3 separate regions of the Homo sapiens genome follow, and regions 1 and 3 are each linked to region 2. Evidence: promoter capture Hi-C in 16 types of primary human blood cells and fetal thymus (Javierre and others, 2016). All regions are on one chromosome and are shown on one strand. The core of a region is centred on a gene start or on the middle of the fragment in contact, and the rest is flanking DNA. Distances in the headings are between cores, read along the strand shown. Region 1 overlaps TTC13 (tetratricopeptide repeat domain 13). Region 2 holds the start of COG2 (component of oligomeric golgi complex 2). Region 3 has its middle 3.1 kb from the start of FAM89A.

Evidence for each region. The method cuts DNA at HindIII sites, captures the fragments that hold promoters and counts their contacts. A CHiCAGO score of 5 or more calls a contact.
Region 1: a fragment that was not itself captured here is called in contact with the fragment with the promoter of COG2 in region 2 in 2 of 17 cell types (naive CD4 T cells and total CD8 T cells); the score reaches 7.0 in naive CD4 T cells.
Region 3: a fragment that was not itself captured here is called in contact with the fragment with the promoter of COG2 in region 2 in 1 of 17 cell types (total CD8 T cells); the score reaches 5.2 in total CD8 T cells.

The regions. Positions count from the first base shown.
Region 1 is chr1:230,972,120-230,974,819 of GRCh38, reverse strand. All of the region lies in intron 1 of TTC13 (tetratricopeptide repeat domain 13), which reads left to right. Among named protein-coding and RNA genes, the nearest start is that of TTC13, 5.4 kb to the left of the region's middle. RefSeq lists an enhancer at 1,720-1,959. The HindIII fragment of the contact is 2,997 bases long and covers 1-2,700 here.
Region 2 is chr1:230,641,230-230,643,929 of GRCh38, reverse strand. COG2 (component of oligomeric golgi complex 2) reads right to left here and starts at 1,449. Exons shown (of 18, transcript NM_007357.3): 1 at 1,252-1,449. The coding sequence starts at 1,323. RefSeq lists an enhancer at 1,206-1,425 and a silencer at 1,516-1,655. The HindIII fragment of the contact is 12,366 bases long and covers 924-2,700 here.
Region 3 is chr1:231,041,976-231,044,675 of GRCh38, reverse strand. No RefSeq gene overlaps it. Among named protein-coding and RNA genes, the nearest start is that of FAM89A, 3.1 kb to the right of the region's middle. The HindIII fragment of the contact is 2,784 bases long and covers 33-2,700 here.

The DNA.
Region 1 (2,700 bases), core at 153-2,652, 330 kb before region 2:
TAGAATGGGTCTGTTCTTTCATTGAAAAACTATTTGTATACCTGCTAGATGCTACTTAGTATTTTGGACCCTGGTGATGCAGCACAGCTGACTGAGTTCCTAGTGTGGATCCTGTGTCTTGGTGAGGGAAGAAATAAGTACAGTTACATACCATTTAACAACAGGGTATGTTTTGAGAAATGTGTCGTTAGGCGATTTCATCATGGTGCAAACATCAAAGAGTGTACTTAGACCGAGATGGAATAGCCCATTACACACCTTGGTTGTATGGTATAGCCTATTGCTTCTAGGCTACAGACCTGTAGCATGTTACTGTACTCAATACTGTAGGCAGTTGTAACATAGTGACAAGTGTTTGTGTATCTAAATACAGAAAATGTACAGTGAAAATGTGGTATTACCGTCTGATGGGACCATTCTCACACATACGTGGTCCATCATTGGCCGAATCATTATGTGGCGCATGACTCTATATAGTAGGGCCCAGTAATACATGCCTTGAAAATAAAGCAGTGTGAGAGGATAAAGAGCAGTGTGTAGGTGCTACTTTAAGAGGTGCCCCGGGATGGCTTCTGGTAAGGAGACATTTGAGCTGAGACTTAGATAGAGTGAGATTTGGAGAGATCTTAGAAATATCTTAATTCAACACTCTGTAGATCTGCTACATTAAGGTCTTGTGAAATTTGTAACTTGTTCATTGATTTAAAAATTCAGGTTCTCTGCTCTTCTTTTTTTTTTTTTTTGAGATGGAGTATCGCCCTGTCACCCAGGCTGGAGTGCAATGGCGTGATCTCGGCTCACTGCAACCTCTGCCTCCCAGGTTCAAGTGATTCTCCTGCCTCAGCCTCCCAAGTAGCTGGAATTACAGGCGCCTGCCACCAAGCCTGACTAATTTTTTGTATTTTTAGTAGAGATGGGGTTTCACCATGTTGGCCAGGCTGGTCTCGAACTCCTGACCTCGTGATCTGCCCACCTCAGCGTCCCAAAGTGCTGGAATTACAGGCGTGAGCCACCACGCCCGGCCCCTCTGCTCTTCTTACCAAAGCTAAACTGCATCTCTTTCAAATCATGTATTAAATTATATCTTTATACTCTTTACAGACAGTATAAGGTATATTTTATGGTTCAAGCATATGCATTTCTAGAAGTTGTTTTAAAAATACTTTTGTTTTCTCCTCTCGCCTTGAAAATGTAGTAGTAACAAGAACAGTGAGTTTGTGTGAATCTTTTTTTCCAATGCCTTCAGCCTTTTTTCACTGCTCTTGAGTGATGCAGCCCTGTACTTGATGTCTTAATTTTCATTAGTTTGTTGAAATCAATGAAAGCAGAATTGCATTTATTCTATTTTCCCACAGTTCTTTATGGGAAAAGGCATTTAGAATCTGTTTGTCCAATTTGAGAATTGTGAACTGCCAGAAAAATAAGGAAGTAGCTATGAACCTAGCTCTGTGTTTTTGACAAAATTGGTAACACTGAGATTGTCCATGTATATGGTAGCTTTCTTAATTAAGGAATTGGCCATTTAAATACATGAAGTCAGTCTTTTTGCTCACAGCACATAGATCACTGCTATGCCTAGAGGTGGTAGAGAATCAATAGAAGGAAACTTATGAGAGCTATTTCCTTTTTTGCTCTATGAGGAAGTTAAGAACCACATTTTGTGCTCAGTCATAGCAATTGTGGTAACCATTACTGTGAGTGTATCTGGTCAATCCTTTCATCTCCTGGCCCTGATTTTCTGTGTTTGTCATCATACATAGTTTCATGGCAGACCTCTTCATATCTTGTTTTTCAAGGCATTCCTGAGTAAATTTGCCAGTGCAAAGTCGCTGTGCTCAGAGACTGAGGCACAGAGTGATGAAGAGATTGTGATCTTGCCACATCCTGGCCCCTGTGGCATTGCCAGAGGGTGTTTCCCTTTTGCTCACTGAACAGCATCTTTCAGCAAATCCTCTGGTTTAGAAGTAGCATTTTATAGCATAAGCCCTATGACGATGGCAGCCTATGATTCGCTTTTTCACGTATATCTGTTGTCATTAAGAATTACATCTACCTTTTAAAAGATCTACATACTGCTAAACCTGTTCAACTTCAGGTGATAAGGGTTAATTATTATTTTTTAATCTCTGGGTGGAGGCAAAAATGGTGTGACTTGGGTTTTAGAACCTACCTGGAGCATGACTGTAGGAAAGTCAAGGCTCTTCAATGTGCACCACTCAATGTACAGACAGTTTAGCTTCACTGCACTCAATATATACTTGACTGACTTTTAAACCTTCTCCCTTTCACAATGAGTTGTTTTAAAGAGGTCATTTTGTTTGGGCTCATCTTATCTTGCAGATAGAATAAATAATTTATCAAAGCGGCAGAATTTTAATACTTTGGGTGAATGCTTTCCAGCATATTCCTTTTCTTATGTTTTGGTTTTACTTTTTTATCAAAATACAACATATATACAGGAGAGTGCATATGTCCTAAGTGTAGATAGCTCAATACGTTTTCATAAGCTGAACAACTGATGTAATCAGAAAGAACCGAAATCAATAGCTGTCTGTTTTTAAGATTGCCGATAGTCTCATTCCATGCTAACCCTAGTTTCATTTGGGAAATGTTTTGTCTGATTTAGAGTCCAGCACCATGCAGTGGACTTACACTGCACATGTGCTGGCATTCTTTCCATAGACTCTCACTTAGGAATCA
Region 2 (2,700 bases), core at 200-2,699:
CACCTCTCCCCAGCATGTACCCTTAGCTGTTTCTTTCTACCCTCATTTCAGGGTAGCTCTTAGCCAGTAGGCAAAACGAAGGGTTTCTGGATCAATGAGTTGATTCTGTACATTCTTTGAGACATCCTAATGAAGTTACACCTTTTAGTACAGTGGTCTAATAGGAATATCACTTACAAGAATAAGGTACATTATTCCTGGGTATAGATAAGTCCTACATACGAAAAATGATATGGTCACACTGGAGAAGATACAGATCTACTTTAAAAAAAAACAGCTTTGGAGATGTAATCTGAATGCAAATATTATCAAAAAGAGATAGGCTAATTAATCTAGAAAACATTATGTCACCAAGAAAGGCAGAGTAAGATTTCAACTCACTTGCTCAAAATTGTAGATGTCTACTAACCAGCTAAAACTTTTCGCTTTTTAACACTGAAAGCAGCTACTAAAAGGTGTCAAAAATCCTAGTCCTCAGGAAATTAAATAGAAACATTTTTTGAATGGCTTAAGTGCAGACCCAGAGGGATACACCAAGTAGGAGCAAAGCTCCTCCCAGCTCTCACTCAAAGCCTGGCCATTTTCAAGGCTGTGCCTGATGAACTTTATCATCAGTGAAGTGTTTTCAGTTTATATTTCTTTTCTCTAAGTTTATGACCTACAACTACCAACTTCTTCAAATGCATCACGTAAAAAGTAGAGCAACTTCTTTAAAGAGTAATGGTTTGCTTTGTCGTACTGCAATAGTCGGTAAGAATGTTCTAAGCTTCTAAATATCCCATTCTGGAAGCTTTAGCTGAATGTTAAGCAAAACTTCAGATTAAGTTCTTTTTCTTTCCGACCCGAGTCCCTAGGAAAGTACGTGGGCTTGGAGATTTATTCAACACACACTTAATGAGCTCCAAGGCCCCGGTCCACAAGCTTCTTTCCGACAAGGGGACTGGCAATCTGACTGCACTGCATGGTAACAGGAACGGGTAACAGTGGCTTTGACATGCAGCTCAAAACCACTTGCCCAGAACTTTCAGGCCTTTCCATGTAACACGCACGATTTTACAGAAGTGCTTTCTCCAGGCTGCACCCGCCAAACCTGACGCCAAAAGACTCATTGCGAAGTGCAGCGAGGTCTCGGCGGAGGACCTGACACTGAGCGTGCGCAGGCAGGAGCAGCCGACCGAAGAGACCGCCACAGAGGGCACAGGGCAGAGGCACCCTCATGGCCCGGCTCCGGGGAGCGGACGCCGCGCGCACCTTCATGAACTCGTCCTTGTCGAAGCAGAGCGTGTCCGGCCCCTTGGGCAGGTTCATCCTACTTTTCTCCATCCCGCCGGCCACCGCCTCTCAGTGCCAAGATCCAAGCGAGAAAACGCAGGAGGCTGCGCAGACCGACTCGGCGGCCGCGGCCACCGCCAGTTTCCACGGCACAGGGGGGTCCGCTTCCGCCAACATGGCAGCGCCCGCGCCGCGGCCAATGAACGACGGCACCGCAAGCCGGCCTGCGCCTGGCTCTGGCCAAGAGGGGCGCGGGGGCCGCCGCTGCTGCACGGGTAGGCCGTGCTGCCCTCATGTGGCGGAGGGCGGTACTGCAGCCTCGCGCGGGCTCCTGCAAGGCTGCCCACCTCCCTAGGAGGCGTGGCTGAGCTGCAGGGGTGGGTCAAAAGGGGTGAGCGGGTCTCCCTCCCACCCCCACCGTTTCTACTGGGAAAAATTGTCCTACAACGCTTTTCCAGTGCCTTCTACCCTGAGACTGCTCTGCTTCGTTATGCATGGCCAGAAGTTGGCCCTTTGGTTCTCAGGCCCGTTTTCCAGGTTGGACGTATCACCGTGGTCGCATTCTTCACCTCCCTGTGCGCGGTCACTGCCGCTGGTGGGCGCTAACGCCTCTATGGAGACCCCCGCCCTTAGCCTCTGTCCCCACAGAGAAGTGTAGCGTCTCCTCCACTGGGCTCCGTTACTGGGAACTCATAGGGAAGAAGGTGGTCAGCTAGGCGGCTTTGGGTCCTCTGAGTAGCTCCCTGCTCAACCTCGGTCTCCGTTCCAGGTGGGCAGCCTCTGAGCGCAACTTTGGGTCTTCAAGGTGCTTAAAGGAGTGCCTCGCTATCTGATTAAACACAGCAGACAAATACATGTGCATGCACATTTATTTTTAATTTCAACCAGGAATGGACAAATTTTTGTGTTGTGGCCAGTACTGGTGCAACCAAACCAATTTCTTAGACTGTCTTCCTCCTCCTCCCCCCACCCACCCCAATTTTATTCTGAGACGTTCTTCCTTTATCTCCTCCCTTGCTTTTTTCTCCTCTTGTCCCTTCCGCTAGCTGTAAATACCGTGGTCAAATGATGATGATTCATTTTTCTTCTTTTCTCCTTGACATTCGGATGATTCAAACCACAAACCTCACTTCACACTCTTCATTCTGCAAACCTTTCCTTCCCGCTTCTGTTGAGGAATCTAGGCCTCTCTTCCCAATTTTTCTCCTTGGAGATAAGATTAACGCCATGATGGCCTGTAAAAAGGAATGGGACAGCAGAGGGTAAGACCTCACCATGAGACTTTGTATTTCAAGTATCTCAACTAGAAAACTGGTCACTTAAAAAAAAATGTAGGCGTAGAATCCAAAACGCTCTACTCCCTAGCACTGGACCTAGCAGGCCCTGTTGAAGAGCCTATTTCCTGCCAGTATCTACAGAACAGATGAA
Region 3 (2,700 bases), core at 175-2,674, 400 kb before region 2:
AGGTTAGTTGGAGGTTTCTGATTGGTTAAGCTTGTTTTGTTTTACTGTTTACACTGAATTAGGTTTTAACTTGCTTAAGTAGGAACCCAGAGCACTGGAGCTGCCTCAGCCTAATGACCTCCCAATTAATTATTTTAACAGTAATTACTCAACAAATTACATTGAACAGTATGTCCATTTATATATATATTTGCTATCACTAGGTGCCCAGCATTGTGCTATAGCAAAGAAAGTATCATCCTTGTCTCTGGCCAAATAAAAAATATTGTTGAAGTGACAAGGCAACAATTTAAAAACTATATAAAGGACTCTATGATTAAATGCCAAGTTTCCCATTTATATGTACACATAGTTGCATACAAAAATCTTTAAGAGGCATTATATAACCTTTAAAATTTACAATTTGTTTTAGAAATGATTGAAATATAAGAAATTATGTCTTGAAATAAACACATTTGCTAAAATGTAGCCCAAATTCATTGCACAGTTGCTTTCAAAGTAATCTAGTTTTAGGTTCTGCAACAAATGAAAAATGGCAAGATAAACTTCTCTATAGTTAGCGGCATTTAAAGTCATCAGCTTGAAAAGGCAAGCTCAGTTGGACTTCTGGTGTCTTTTTCAGGTTCTTTCTAGTCTATTAACAACCTAAGTTATTAAACTTGAGAATGATAAAAAAAAACAAAAATAAATAAAACGCACAAAAAGACTCTTTAGAGTTCCCAAAAGCAAACAACAAGTGGGCAGAGATTAGAGGTGGGGAGGAACCTAGTGGCTGGGTTAATGGAAGGTCAGGATGGAGGCACATGAGAATAATCTCTAAGTAAATGCCTGGATACTGGTGACTCTGAGGCTTGTGCTCCAAGGCCCAGGTCCCTAACCTTGATTGACAAAGTCTAAGAAAAGATGTGGGTTAATGAATAGAGCACTGGATTAGAAGTTTGTGTTTTCTGATTTCCAAGAGCCTGTGAACAACAAAACAAAACAGAAAAGACTAATTCAGCTGCATGGGTGATGATGAAGACTCACTCTGATTTGAACTCAGAATACAGATGTTTTGCTATGGTCTGAATGTATGTGCCCCCTGCCAGCCCCAAATTCATATGTTGAAACCTAACCCCCATGTGGTGGTATTGAAGTGAGATCTTTGGGAGGTGTCTAGGTCATGAAGGTGAAGCCCTTGTAAATGGAATCAGTGCCCTTGTAAAAGAGGCTTGAGGGCGCTCCCTGGCCCCTTCTGCAATGTGAGGACACCCAGAAGGTGAAATCTATGAGGAATGAGCTCTCAGCACACACGTCAGCTGGTGCCTTGATCTTGGACTTCCAGCCTCCAAAACTGTGAGCAATACATTTCTGTTCTTTACACATTATCCAGTCTCAGGTATTTTGTTATAGCAGCCTAAATGGACTAAGGTAATGTTTCAGTGGCTTAATGCAAAAAAACACACTGTCAGAAGTTATTTACTACTTCTCTCTCATTATAAGCATGAACTTTAAAAGGTACTTTATATTGGCATTTGAATAAACAGACACTAACATTCCCCAAGGATGTCAAAATATTTGTTATATAATAGTTTCAGGCTTGTACAAATAATGTCTTCACCAGCACCACAGAAATTCTGTAGAAACTTCTCCTTACCCTGGGATATTATTTGTTGATACTGATTTCAATACTCTTACCTCACTGAGTATAGGCCAGAACGCAGAGCCTGCCTTTAAAATGTTAAGGTTGGCCTGGCGTGGTGGCTCATGCCTGTAATCCCAGCACTTTGGGAGGCTGAGGTGGGTAGATCGTGAGGTCAGGAGTTCAAGACCAGCCTGGCCAAGATGGTGATGGGTATGGTGGCGGGTGCCTGTAATCCCAGCTACTTGGGAGGCTGAGGCGGAGAATTGCTTGAACCCGAGAGGTGGAGGTTGCAGTGAGCCAAGATCGCGCCACTGCACTCCAGCTTGGGCGACAGAGTGAGACTCCATCTCAAAAAAGAAAAAAAAAATTGGTAAGGTTGGCATTGTCTAAGTTGTGCCTCTTTTCTCGAGTCCTGACACCACGGACCTCATGCTGCTGTCTAGCTGACCCTAACCTCCTTTTCCTTCTGTAATCCGTAATTCTCTGAAGTATGTGCTTTAAAATGCTTTCAGTGCCCCGATACTTCAAAGTGATTTCTTTTCTTATTTCACCATCACATAGCTGAATCTCCTATCACCTACCTTGAGTGATTTCTGCTAGGTACTACAGGTGAGACTGCATTGTAACCAGTGAAATTAAAGAAATTCATGCAGGCTGGGCGCGATGGCTCACACCTGTAATCCCAGCACTTTGGGAGGCCGAGGTGGGTGGATCACCTGAGGTCAGGAGTTCGAGACCAGCCTGGCCAACATCGTGAAACCCCATTTCTACTAAAAATACAAAAATTAGTCGGGCGTCGTGGCACATGCCTGTAATTCCAGCTACTTGGGAGGCAGAGACAGGAGAATTGCTTGACCCAGGAGGCAGAGGTTGCAGTGAGCTGAGATCACGCCACTGCACTCTAGCTTGAGTGATAGACTGTCTCATAAAAAAAAAAAAATTCATGCTAAGGTGTGAACCGAATGTCAAAATGCTTCCCACCCCTTCCTCTCCCTTACTCCCACACAGGCAGACTGGTCACTCTCCTGAAGACACCCACCGTTTACATAAGTGAATGAATAAATACCTGACATCCA